Regions from separate parts of the Homo sapiens genome. Here regions 2 and 3 are each linked to region 1. Evidence: promoter capture Hi-C in human tissues and cell types (Jung and others, 2019). All regions are on one chromosome and are shown on one strand. Each heading gives the region's core, a stretch centred on a gene start or on the middle of the fragment in contact. The rest is flanking DNA. Distances are from core to core; before and after follow the strand shown.

Region 1 (4,429 bases), core at 631-3,130:
CTGGCACTTGTAATAATCATTTCACTGACTTTCTATTTTCAGATAGGCTTTAATATCATTCCCTCACACTCCAGCTATTTGTCAAATTCTATTCTTTATATTGAATTTCCCTTTTTATAACTTTAACTCTGATTTTTTTTGCCTTTTTCCCTTTAATGGACTTAGATGATCTTTTTATGTAATATCTTTAATTTGTTATCATTAGTTTTATATGACATATTCTTACTCATACCTCTTTTCGATTAGAGTCAGAGTAAACTTATGCCTGTTAAGTTTAAGACTCAGCATACTAGTCCCCACTTAACTTAGAATAATTTGAGCATGAAATAGGAGAATATGCAAGCAACCATGAGAATTGCTCAAAATTGACTACAGGCATTTTCAAAAACAGTTAATGACCTAATCATTATTTTTTAAAATACTGAGAGTCACAATATTAATCATAATGAACTCCTTTAAGCTCCCTGTAATGGTCATAAGTACTTCTGTAATTCTGTTGCAATTCAACAGTAATCGATGATATCTGCATTAATTTTTAAATTTGACTATTTGTCTATAATTTTAAATGCTAGTATTCTAATGAACATCTACTTCTTTCATCCTTATTTCCACAGTCGTAATTGAGAATCAAAGTAGAAGTATTGACCCTCTAAATGATTTTCTCTTTTAAATTAAGAAACAAATGAATGAAATGTAGGTAAGGCATTGAACATACAACAGTTTAAAAGTTTTTTGCTTCTCACCTGCATTTAAATTACCACATGAAATTGTATTTTTCTTGGGAGAACAGTTCTAAGATTTAAAAGTAATATAATTCTAAAATATTTAGTGGATTCTGGTTCTTTCGCAAATAAATATAGTTGAAACAACTTATTGTTCAGGTCATCAGAGTAATTCTCAGGTTTGTGTATGTGCAAATTGATATTCTCTTCCGTATATCTCCCTACAAAACATGGTAAGGATGTCTGAACATAATTTTTTAATCTATCACAATCCTATACAACCTTTAGAAAAAAGCTCAGCATAATCCAAGATACAGTTTTTCTCAGTCTCACGAACTTTGTAGAACTCCACTTATAGAGCATCCCTACTGAATTTTAACAAGTTATTGCAATGCCAGATGCCCAATTATTTAGTCTCGGAAACTCATTGCTCAAACATAAGGCATACATTCAGTACCTGAGAACGGCATCCTATTTTCCAAACATTTAGTTTCTTTTGTAGAAACATCCTCACTTTATCCTGGCATTTATTGCCTTACAATTTGCAATTTGCGTGTAGGAATTGCTTACTCTTATTTTGGGTGGCATTAGGAGATATACAAATAGGTTATATTTACTCTTGTTTCAACTTTTTGCCATAAAATCCCAGCAGGAAATAAAGTCGTGTTTTGTTTCCTTTATTTAAAAAAGCTTCATCTTACAGTTTTTACATTCTGGCAACATGGCAAGAAAGGATGGCTTTGCAGAACAGAGTGTGTCAAAAATCCTAAGTGGCTGGGAGATGAAGTGCACAATCACAGAACGCAGTCACTGGCAAAGGAATGTCAGCCACTTACCAATAAGATGCCAGACTCCACTGTCCTTCCTCTGTGACTCTCAATTCCTGTCTCCCATCCTCCTGCCCATCAGCACAGTTCAGAGAGAGCGGTTCCTCGGGTCCTTTGCAGCCTGTGGCAGAGGCGAATTGCGGAGTTCTTAATCATTCAGAGGGAATCCTCCAGCTTGCCCTGCCTCTCGCAGCAGACGGGACCCAGGTAACGCATCCTCTCCGCCCCGAGCTTTAATGGCACTTTGGCTGCCGCCTTCTCGCAGTTCCGCTCCCCCACGCCGTAGTTGGTTATATTGGGAAGTAGGTGCGGCGCCTCCTGCGGCTGGTGTGTTTGGGGCTCGCGTGTTTTCCTCCAATGCGTCCGCGCGCCCTGCGCCCCGCGCCTCTGACTGGCTGTGTCCTCCCGGGGCGGCCCCTCGCCCCTCCCCGGCCGCCCGCGCTGTCACCGGCGCCCGCGTCCAGCGCCTCACTGCCTCTTGCTGCAAAGGTTCATTGAGCATGTCCCTGGGCTTAACGAACTGTGCGCCTCCCGGAGGGTGCTCTGTGTTTCTCCACTCGTCTCACTAGTCAACCGGCATTTTCCTTCCCTGCTAAGTACAGAGGACCTGCCCCCCTTCCCCGAGCGTTTCTGCTCTGCAACCCCTCCGTATTTAACATTCATAGATTACAAAGCAAACGTGCTGGCTGGAGTCGGCACGGGAGATCCAGGCGAGAGTCCCTTCCTCCGCTCCTGTCTTCACTCTGATTCCTGTAGTCCCCGGCTCACACCTCTGACAGCAGCAGCACAGACTGACGCGTTCACTTAGGTCGGTTTGAGAGTGGACTTTTTCACTTTGCAGAATTTTCTTAAGTCCTGAATGGGAAGCACTTCTCTTTTGTTTCTGCACTTACGCGTTTCATCTAAGGACTATCAGGCTCTGCCTGTTTATATTTCTCTTTGATTTGGGGTGTTGACTCAGTTCTAAAAAAAAGCGAAGGAATGGTCTCAGCAACCTTTTTTTCGGAATTTTTATATTACAATGGCTGTAATTGGAAAAATAACACAGGTAGTAAATCCACAGTGTGGCAGCTTTAGTGCCATTGTTCTGCCAGTCCTCCTCTCTACTTTTTTTTTTTTTTTCCTCTCAGTCTTTGAGTCGTTTTCCAATTCCCACGATTGGGCTGATGGTAATTGGGTATTTGTTAAATAAATTATATAACATTTCCTTTGCAATATATTTCCATAGAGAATGTGGTTTGCACCTGTATTTAATGGAAAGGAAATCCCACGTACTGCTTTCTATCTCTGTGTCTGTATAAGAAACTGCATGGGAGTCTAGGGTCGCACCCCGTGTCCGCTGGTGTCCGTTTTTCATGTGTGTTTGAGAGCAGCCTGACCCTGGACTGACGCTGATTCTTCTGCTCACTGAATCCCCCGATGGGGTCTGACTGGCTCTAATTGGCAAGGAGAGTACAGTGCCAGGCAGCCTGTAGCTGGAAGCCGTCTACCACTAGCCCTGTGTTCTTTCTCTTGCAGTTTTTCTGGTAATTAAAATTAGTCTTTTCCTGTTTCTTGGCTGCTTCTCATTCATCCAATGATGTACAAACACCCAGTCTCTGCTTTTAATCGCTATCCTCAGGATCTAGGCTGATTGCTTGTTCTGTAGCAAAGACAAATTTGTGTGCATTTAATACTTCTCCACTCTTCCATACTTTTTATATTCGTGTTCCTGCTTTCCAGTAACTAGGTTATCTTCTTTATGTGTTAACTGAGGGATCGTTGTGGAGATTCCCCTTCTGTGGCTTTTTCTCTGCCCCACTGGCTCTTCTCCTCTGTCAGGCTGTCGGTTCACAGAGAGAACTACCAGGACTTTTATAACCACATTAAATACATCACAAAATAAATTCAAAGTGTAGGAGCTCTAACGCATTCTTTTTATTGTTCGATGAGGTTTTTGCCTTTAAAAGTGTATAATTGAGCACATGCAGCCTGAAAGAGGGATCGGGAGTGTAGAAAGCTTTCTGAAAGTTCTCTTCCCTTCTTAGAACACCATTCTATATTACCCATGATCCGATAATTTGGGCATTTTGAGTCATTATGTCACATAATTTCTTTCAACTAGCTTTGCCCTAGAAAGGATGTAAGTTGGCTTATAAAAATCTATTCAGTTTAAAAAAATGAATAAAAAATGTAGGTCAGTGAGATCAAGACAAACGGTAAAGTGATAGGAGGAGAGATAAGATGAAGCCAGAAATGAGGTTTATAGAGAAAACTGCATTGATGTTTTTGTTACAAATGGTGCTAGGTCTGCCATTAACTTTGTTAGCAGCCAATGTAAAGAAGGAAATGCTATCGGTCACATGATTCATGGTGCCCTCCTACCATTAACATGAACAAGAAAATTTACCTTTTACATGATGTAAATGGACTAAATATTTCTCCTTTCTTAAGCAAGAACTAAATAAAAGCTTTTAATGTTTCTACTTTTTATAAAGAGAGCAATATTATCACAAGACTATGGTGTGAATATATTTTTGAAACAAGTAGATAATGTAATAGCACTTTTCCTTGCGAAGTTATCTGATGCTTTAGAGGGAGAGAAAGGAAACGTTGAATCTGTTTAATTAAAAATAGTAAGGTCTATTTCTGTCAGTTCAAATTTAAAATGTTGACTTCAATCATTATTTGGGGGTGACTAGGTTACCTGGCTACACTTCATTCAGGACCCAGAAAGAGTGACTATATTTATTCTCATGTCTTTTATGACTTTTAATGTTCTAATTTGTAATAATATACAATTATATATTCCCTATTAATATCTATATATGTAACAGACAAACTGTTAGTCTATCTGACTCATCTTTCTTTAGAATTTTGCTGTTATGGAGTTAACTTATG
Region 2 (4,429 bases), core at 1,372-3,871, 1.9 Mb after region 1:
CAAAGGGGAAGTGGGATAAGGTCACAGCCTGTGAGCTGTGACCCATTTTAAAACATCCCCATTTCAGAGATTTGAAAACTCTGGTAGCTTACCTAATTTTTTCAATGTCATATGAGATTGTCAGAGGCAGTGTTTTATTAGGTTTCTTGCTTCTTAACTATTTCTCTATATTTCTCTCCAAAATGTAGAAAACTATGAAATTCTAACTGAAGGTAGTTTATTAATGTCACCTATTGTTCATAGCATTGAAAAGCACAGTTCCATATGAATATAGTGATCAATTTTACAACATTCAACACACATTTAAAGAACAGCAACTGTATAATATCACTTTGTGCAGTGCTGTGAAGATATAGAAACACTGCCATGGCCATCTAGGAGTTCAGGATCTAGTAGAAAGGGCAGATAAAACGTAAATACAGGGGATGACAGCTATAAATGTTGTAAGTACAAACAGTATGTTCTGATAATATTCTCAGGGAGAATAAGGTAAAAGATTTTCCCCATTCCCATCTTGGTTTGCTGTTGATCAATATAATATTAAAACTGCAACTACCTCTGATATATTCATTCCAGAAATTTTGCTAGTTCATTTCTGCAACTATAAAATATCAAAGTTCACATGAATTTTTATAAGAATATTTTGTCCATATTTTTCTACCTGACTTCTGGTTCTCAGCCATAGAAATGTGCTGCCAGAATAGGTTGTATAGCTTCCAAAACTGATGGAAAATTATCAAAAATTAACAAATTACAAACATGGTTTATCCCATCTAAGATAAATGAAACCAGAATGCATGAACATGGCTGGTTCTCAAAACAGCATCTATAAATTCTCAATAAAAAGTTCCCAATTAGATTACAGATGACGTACTTTGTAATTCCTTACATTTCTCCTGATTTTATGTTCAACATAAAGAAATCAATCATGACATCCCCATCTAGAGGCAAACCAAAATGTAATTTTGTATAAAAACGTTAATCTTTGTAGTTAGTACAAATGCTATAAATTTTCTGTTATAATATCATAGTTCATTTTATGTTAAAATGGAGAAAAATCATCTGTGTGGAAAAATTAAATTTTACCTCAAATGATAGTTAACATTGAGATGCATCAAGACTACTAAGAAACAAGGATATCCTTACATTCAAAATGGTAAAGTTGATACATTGATACACATTGGATATTTTAATTCATTTATATATATATATAACATTGATACTCAATATAACCATCAAGGTAATCTGAAAGTAATATCACTGTTGGATAACTGGAATGTGACAATTTAGTGATAATTTACTTGTATGCTGTTAGGAAAAAGATGATAAGAATTTTACTTTCATAGGTGGGAATTGAACAATGAGATCACATGGACACAGGAAGGGGAATATCACACTCTGGGGACTGTGGTGGGGTGGGGGGAGGGGGGAGGGATAGCATTGGGAGATATACCTAATGCTAGATGACGAGTTAGTGGGTGCAGCGCACCAGCATGGCACATGTATACATATGTAACTAACCTGCACAATGTGCACATGTACCCTAAAACTTAAAGTATAATAAAAAAAAATAATAAAAAAAAATAAAACAAGAGGACCAAGAAAAAAAAAAGAAAAAAAAAAAAAGAATTTTACTTTCAAAAAAAGATTGAGAAAAAATGTGAGAGACAGACTGACAGAGATGGAGAATAAAAATGAGAGAGAGAAAAGCAAACATTTTCCTACGGGGATAAGGGGAGAGTCTTGCTTGGAAATATTGACTTTTCTTTGGCTTGTCTATTTCTAACCTGACCAATTTCTTTTTTCACAGACTCCTTTGAGAATTTGACCATCTCTTCAGAAATATGCACTGTTTTAGATAGGTTATTAGGTCCCCTAAATTTCATTTATGGTACCCAGGTTAAGAAGATAAGTTAAAGAAGGTGAAAATTCCTCAGTCCTCCTTAGTTAATGTTCCTAGTCACACATTCACTCTCAGTCATTCACAGAACACCAGTAAAATCAAGATTCTGAGGACCAGATCATGATTCATGGTTAATTTAGCAATATCAATACTCCTGGATGGGGTGCTTTCTGGACTGGCATGAGGCTTTTTTCAGACACCCCCTGTTTTGCTCTGTGCTTCATATATGAACACGGAATCTCTAAAAACAACAATAGAAAAATAAAAATACTAAATTTATTATGTACCAATGCTATTCACAGGTGGGTTATTCTTGACTACAGAACACTGTATTTCTTCGACAAGAATGTTTTTTACTAAAATTTCAAGAAAAATACTCTGAAGTATCACTGATCTCAGTGAAACTTCTGAAATTTATATTTTTTTCATCCAAAAAGCTTTTCACCTCCAAAGAATTTTGAGTGAATTTTTAATTAAATCCTGATAATCCCACTACTGAGCTAAAGAAGATATGCAATTAATCTATAAGCATCGTCCATGTTGCTCAACTTTTTTACTCATCAGCAAAGATATAATTTTGAATGTATAGAAAAAATATATAGAAAGTTGCTGTCATATTATTATAAATTACATCTCTCTCAAAGAGAACTTTTTGGTGGGATGGATAACGTATATGATATGTAATATATGATATGTATGTATTATTTCTCCAACTATTATAACATTGATAATATATAATCAATGTAATATATATACAGTGATACAGTATAATCAATATGTAAAATCCATATGAAGTCAATATCACTATTTCTACCATATATTGTTACCTAAGCACACTCATATGCATGATTCATGTTAGCATATACATTTTTTACCCAACAGTTCAGTATTTGTCAAGGCAGAGTAACTCTACTTATAAAATTACTCTTATGGAAAAGTAACCAAGGTGAAATGTAAGTGTATTTATTTTAGTCTGTCATAACAAGTAGTGCTAGCCAGATTTAATACTTCTGTTGGGACTTATACCACGGTAATATTATTTTTTCATTCCAAATTGCTACCCAGAATAGGTGAAAAACAAGAGTATCACATCATCAGCTAGGCCAATAAGAAATCACAGTGCCCTGGTATGACTCTCAACAAGGCTTTTTCTTATTCCAACAATGCAAAACATAGAATTTATGCTGATAATGAGATAGAACCTTAAGCGAGAGAAGGAACTATCTAGACAAAGATAAAACCAGGACAGTTTTTGGAGGGGAAAGAAATTTAACCTTTTTTTAGGAAAACTGTAAATCTAACAATAAAGGAGAGGTGGCATGGCTAAGACTACCATGTGAAGCTGGAATAATGGCCCTTATCTTTGCTCGTTAGTAATTAGCAAATTGATGCATATAATTTAAGATTACACTGGAATTCTCCATATACATGTACAGCCTACATGTTAAATATTTGCCACGCATGCTTTAGAGTCTTGTATCTAAAGAAAATTCTTAGCATGATTTGACTAAAGGGTCTGCAGATAGAATAGAGGACACTGTCTGGTTAGTACAGTCTGTGAATATTCCCATTTAGTATTTTTATATCTAATGAAAAGGGATAATCATAAGAAATTTATATCAGTTACTTGGATCACATATCTTTTGCAAAACACAAAAAACAATATCTAATGATAGCTTACTTGTTATTGCTCCTCAGATACCTCCCAGTTAATTCTTCAAATTTTCCTCAATCCAGTTCCTAATTTGGAGTTCTTTGTTGTCATTAATGGTAAACAACATCTACTCTAAAGTCCCCAACAGAAACATGAAGCTATTCATTCTCTCATTCACCCATTTATCTAATTTTTATATGTTAACATTTAATATCACTTACATTAACCTCCATTATTCCCAAACTTCATATAACTTCCCAAACTTCATAGGGCCAAACATCAATATTTTCTAAGATCTCTCCAAATGATTTTACTATTTACCAGGGGTTGATAAACACTGCATTGGAAAGATGGACTGAATAATGCAAAAATGCAAGAAAAAATGGCGCATCCAGGATAAGTAGTTTCTCTTCTTGAATTTTATAATTCCAATTATTTTTTTTTTAAATAAAATTATTTTCTTGCAGTTCTGGAGGCCAAAAGTCCAAGATCAAGGTGTCAGGAGGTTTGGCTTCTTCTGAGGGCTCTCTTGTTGGCTTGCCTTCTCACTGTTTTCTTATGTCGTCATTTCTGTATCTGCATGTGCACCCCTGATATCTCTTTGTGTGTCCAAATGGCCTCTCATAGAAGGACACCAGTTAGTTTGGATTAGGGCCCACCCAAATGGTCTTATTTTGACTTAATCACTTGTTTAAAGGCACTATCAACAAATGCAGTCAAATTCTGAGATACAGGGGTTGGCCTTCAACATGTGAATTTTGGAGAAACACATTTCATTCCACAACATTGCCATAGTAAATGGAACACAAAAAAAAGGCAGAGGTTGCAATCCTAGTCTCTGGTAAAACAGACTTTAAACCAAGAAAGATCAA
Region 3 (4,429 bases), core at 1,277-3,776, 1.1 Mb after region 1:
TACTACTCACAACAAATAAAAGATGAAAATAAACCAGTATCCATCGGCACATAAATAAATTATATATATATATATATACATATATATATGTATGCATACAGTGGGAAATTATTTAGACATACAAAAAGATGAATGAAGTTCTGATACATGCTACAAGAAGGATAAACCAAGAAAAGTATACTAAATGAAATAAGCCAGGAACAAAATGCCAATTATTTTATAATTTGAAGAAAATATCTACAGTAAGCAAATTCATAGAGACATTCAATAAATTAGAGGTTACCAGGTTTTGTGGAATAGGGGACTATTGGTTATTCCTTAAAAATTACAAAGTTTTTTGGGAGAGGTGACAAAAACATTTTACACATAAAAATGACAAATTATATATTATGTATATAAATTTCCACTAAAAGAGAAAAATTCTAAAGTACCAAGTTTCATCTTCCAAACCTTCTCAATCATGTTTGGTTGGGAATGTGTATGGTCCACCCTAGGTCAAAATACTTCTTCATCTGTGAACAGGGAAAACAAACAAATTTATCTGCTTTTAAAATGAAATAGTGGTACAGGCATTAGATAGATATTTTTATATTAACAGGTAGAAATTTGTAGGAGTAAAGGATCACTAGTTCCAAGCAACTCCAAATCTTCGCAGAGTAGATCTGTAAATTCAAGGCTTAGGCTTAATCCTTTTAGGCTTGATGGTCTGTTCTCTGGCTCCACTCTCTGGAATTAACTTTGTAATGACCTTTGTGACAATTCTTCCCTCAGAATTATTCTTCATTTTTCTGAAGGTTAGCACTTGTTTTCTGCCAGAGTTGCTCTAGCAGGACACGTTTTGCTTGTAGAATCCCCAAATAATGACAGCCTTTTCATTTCATCCCATTTCTGTCCTCTTCAGTCCAAGCTGCCAGTGTTTTTGGTGGTATAACATTCTGAAAAATCTTGAGGGTCTCTGTGTCTGTCAGGGGGACCCACATTGTTAAACAAAGGGTTCTCCACAGATCCTTTCTTTATAGCTTGTCTCTATTTATGGCTTCTGTGGAAATGATTGATTGGATGCATGAGTTATACATCTCATGTCTTTACCAGAAGTTTGTCCAGCCACACTCTACCCTTTCTCCAGAGCATGCTCTAGCATCTTTTGCAGTCTTGATAGGCTGAGAATTTTCCAAATCATTGAGTGTTGCTTCCTTTTTGCTTAACAGTTCCTTCATCGATGTATCTTTGTCTTCTTGCATTTTACTATAAGTAATAAAAAGAATCCAGGCCACACCTTCAAAACTCTGCTTAGAAATCTCTTCTTCAAAATATCCTAGGTGAATTCTTAAAAGTTCTTTTCCTCACCCATTAATAGAAACAATTAAGTCAAGTTTTCTGCCAATTTATGACAAGGATTACATTTCCTCCAGTTCCAAATATCATGTTTCTTTTCTCTGTCCTAGACCTTGCCATAAGTACTTATAACCTCTATATTTTCACCAACAGTCTCTCCAAGGCAATATATACTTTTTCTGTTACATGACTCAAAATTCTTCCAATCTCTAGCCATTTCCCATTTCCAAAGCCACTTCCACATTTCTTAGTATTTTTTTTATATTTGCAGCCCACTTCCCAGGACTAAACCTTTATTTGTCTTCTAGGTCTACTGTTATGAATTGCCACAACTTGGAGGCTTAGAACAACACAAATTAGTACTCTCACAGTCCTGAAGGCTACAGCTCTGCAATCAAGATATCAGCAAGGCCATCATTCCACTAAGGCTCTAAGGAAGAATCCATTTTTGCCTCTTCCTGCTTCTGGTAACCCCAAGCATTCCTTGACTTATGGCAGCATAATTCCCATTCTGTTTCTGTCTTCACATGGTTTTCTTTTCTGTGTCCACGTATGTTCTTTTCTGCCTCTTATAAGGACACTGTCACTGGATTTAAGGTCCACTCTGATTCACCATGATTTCATCTTAATTTCTACCTCAGTTACATTTACAAAGATTCTATGTCAAAAGAAGGTCACATTCTAGGGCACCTGGTAGACTTAAATTCTGGAGGGAAACAATTCAACCCACTGTGGTTGGCTTTAGATTATTTAATCTGATAATCTGTTTCTATTAATTACAGTATTTTGTTCATTTATATTTATGGAAGTTACAAATAGAGTTATATTTAAACCTAAATAACATGAGCTGCTTTTATTTGTCATATACAGGCATAGCTTGAAGATATTTTGGGCTCAGTTCCAGACCCACTGCAATAAAATAAATATCATACTAAAGCAAGTTATGTGGACTTTTCTGTTTTCCAGTGCACATTAAGGTTGTGTTTGCCCTGTACCCAAGGCTGTTGAGTGTGTAATAGCATTATGTCTAAGAAAACAATGTGTATATGTTAACTCAAAAATACTTTATTGCTAAAATAGGTTAACAACCATCTGAGACTTCAATGAGTCTGACTCTTTTCTGGTGGAGGATCTTGCCTTGATGTTGATGATTACTAACTGATCAGCATGGTGGTTGCCGAAGGTTTGGTGGTTGTGGCAATTTCTAAAAATAAGACAACAGTGAAGTTTGCAGCATCGATTGACTTTTCCTTTAACGAAAGATTTCTCTGTAATATGTTCTCTGATGCTATTTGATAGCATTTTATTCACTGTAGAACTTCTTTAAAAACTGGAGGCAGTTTTTTCAAACTCTACTGCTGTTTTATCAAATGAGCATATGAATATTCTAAATCCTTTGTCATTTCAATGATGTTCACAGCATCTTCACCAGGAGTTGGTTCTGTCTCAAGAAACTACTTTCTTTGTTTTTCTGAAGGAAGCAACTTCTCATCTGTTCAAGTCTCATCATAGGATTGAAGCAATTCATTCACATCTTCAGGGTCCACTTCTAATTGTACTTCTCTTGCCATTTCCATAACATCTGTAATTAGTTCCTTTACTGAAGTCTTGAACTCCTCCAAGTCATTTATGAGTGTTGGAATCAGCTTCTTCCAAATCCCTGGTAATGTTGATATTTTGACTTCCTTTCATGCATCATGAATGTTCTTGATGACATCTAAGATTGTGAATTATTTCCAAAAGATTCTCCATTTACTTTTCCCAGATTCACCACAGGGATCACTATCTATGGTATCTAGGGCCTTATAAAATGTATTTCTTAAATCATAAAAATTGAAAGTCTAAATTACTCCTTTATGCATTGGCTGCAGAATGGATGTTGTGTTAGTAGGCATGAAAACAATTCCAATCTCCTTATACAACTCCTTCAGAGCTCTTGGATTACTAGGTGCATTCTCAGTTAACAGTAATACTTTAAAATAAATCTATTTTACTGAGAAGTAGGTCTTAATATTGGACTTAAGGTATTCAATAAACTATGCTGCAAACAGATGTTCTGTCATCCAGGCTTTGTTGTTCCATTGCTAGAGCACAGGCAGAGTAGACTTAGCATAATTCTTAAGGGCCCTAGGATTTTCATCTCGGTAAAGAAGCACTGGCTTCAACTTAGTCACCTGCATTAGCATTTAAGAGAGTGCTCCTAAGAAAGCTCCTTTGAAGCTTTCAAGCCAGGCATTGGCTCCTCCTCTCTAGCTATGAAAGTCCTAAATGGTATCTTTTTCCAACATAAGGCTATTTCATCACATTGAAAATCCATTGTTTGATGTAGTCACTTTGATCAATGATCTTAACTAGATCATCTGGATAACTTGCTGCAACTTCCACTTCAGCATTTGTTACTTCAACTTGTGCTTTTATGTTATGGAGATGGCTTCTTTCCTTAAACCTTGTGTACCAACCTCTGCTAGCATCAAACGTTGTTTCTGCAGCCTCCTTAACTCTCTCAGCTTTCACAGAATTCATAAAAGTTTGAGCCTTGCTCTGGATTAGGCTTTGGCTTAAGGCAATACTGTGGCAGTTTTGATCTTCTATCCAGACCACTTAAACTTTCTATCAGAATAAGGCTGTTTTATTTTATTTATTTATTTTTTATCATCGATGTGATCAGTGGCATAGCACTTTTAGTTTTCTTCACAAAATTTTCTTTTCCTTTCACGACTTGACTAACCAGTTGGCTCAAGAGGCCTTGATTTTGGTCTATTGCAGATTTCAAAGGGCTTCCTCACTAAGCTTAATCATTTGTAGCTTTTGATTTAAAGTGAGAGACATGCAACACTTATTTTCATTTGAACACTTAAATGCCATTGTAGGGTTATTAATTGGCCTAATTTCAGTATTGCTGTGTCTCAGGGGATAGTTGTGTCTCAAGAAAAGGGAGTAAGATAGAGGAATGGCCAGTCAGTGGAGCAGTCAGTACACACACATTTATTGATTAAGTTTGCCATCTTTTATGGGCATGATTTGTGGCACCCCAGAACAATTGTAATATCAGAGATCACTGGTCATAGATCATCATAACAGATATAATAAGGGA

What was found. The method cuts DNA at HindIII sites, captures the fragments that hold promoters and counts their contacts. A contact is called where the count stands out against the background at its distance.
Region 2: a fragment that was not itself captured here is called in contact with the fragment with the promoter of CNTN5 in region 1 in 1 of the 25 tissues and cell types used here (dorsolateral prefrontal cortex).
Region 3: a contact is called between a fragment that was not itself captured here and the fragment with the promoter of CNTN5 in region 1, in 1 of the 25 tissues and cell types used here (mesendoderm cells).

Annotation. Positions count from the first base shown.
Region 1 is chr11:99,018,400-99,022,828 of GRCh38, reverse strand. It overlaps CNTN5 (contactin 5), which reads right to left and starts at 1,880. Exons shown (of 25, transcript NM_014361.4): 1 at 1,559-1,880. The HindIII fragment of the contact is 4,883 bases long and covers 1-3,774 here.
Region 2 is chr11:97,103,399-97,107,827 of GRCh38, reverse strand. No RefSeq gene overlaps it. Among named protein-coding and RNA genes, the nearest start is that of LINC02553, 150 kb to the left of the region's middle. The HindIII fragment of the contact is 8,793 bases long and covers 1-4,429 here.
Region 3 is chr11:97,939,979-97,944,407 of GRCh38, reverse strand. It overlaps LINC02713 (long intergenic non-protein coding RNA 2713), which reads left to right. Exons shown (of 6, transcript NR_183633.1): 2 at 1,644-1,802. Among named protein-coding and RNA genes, the nearest start is that of LINC02713, 15 kb to the left of the region's middle. The HindIII fragment of the contact is 5,758 bases long and covers 1-4,429 here.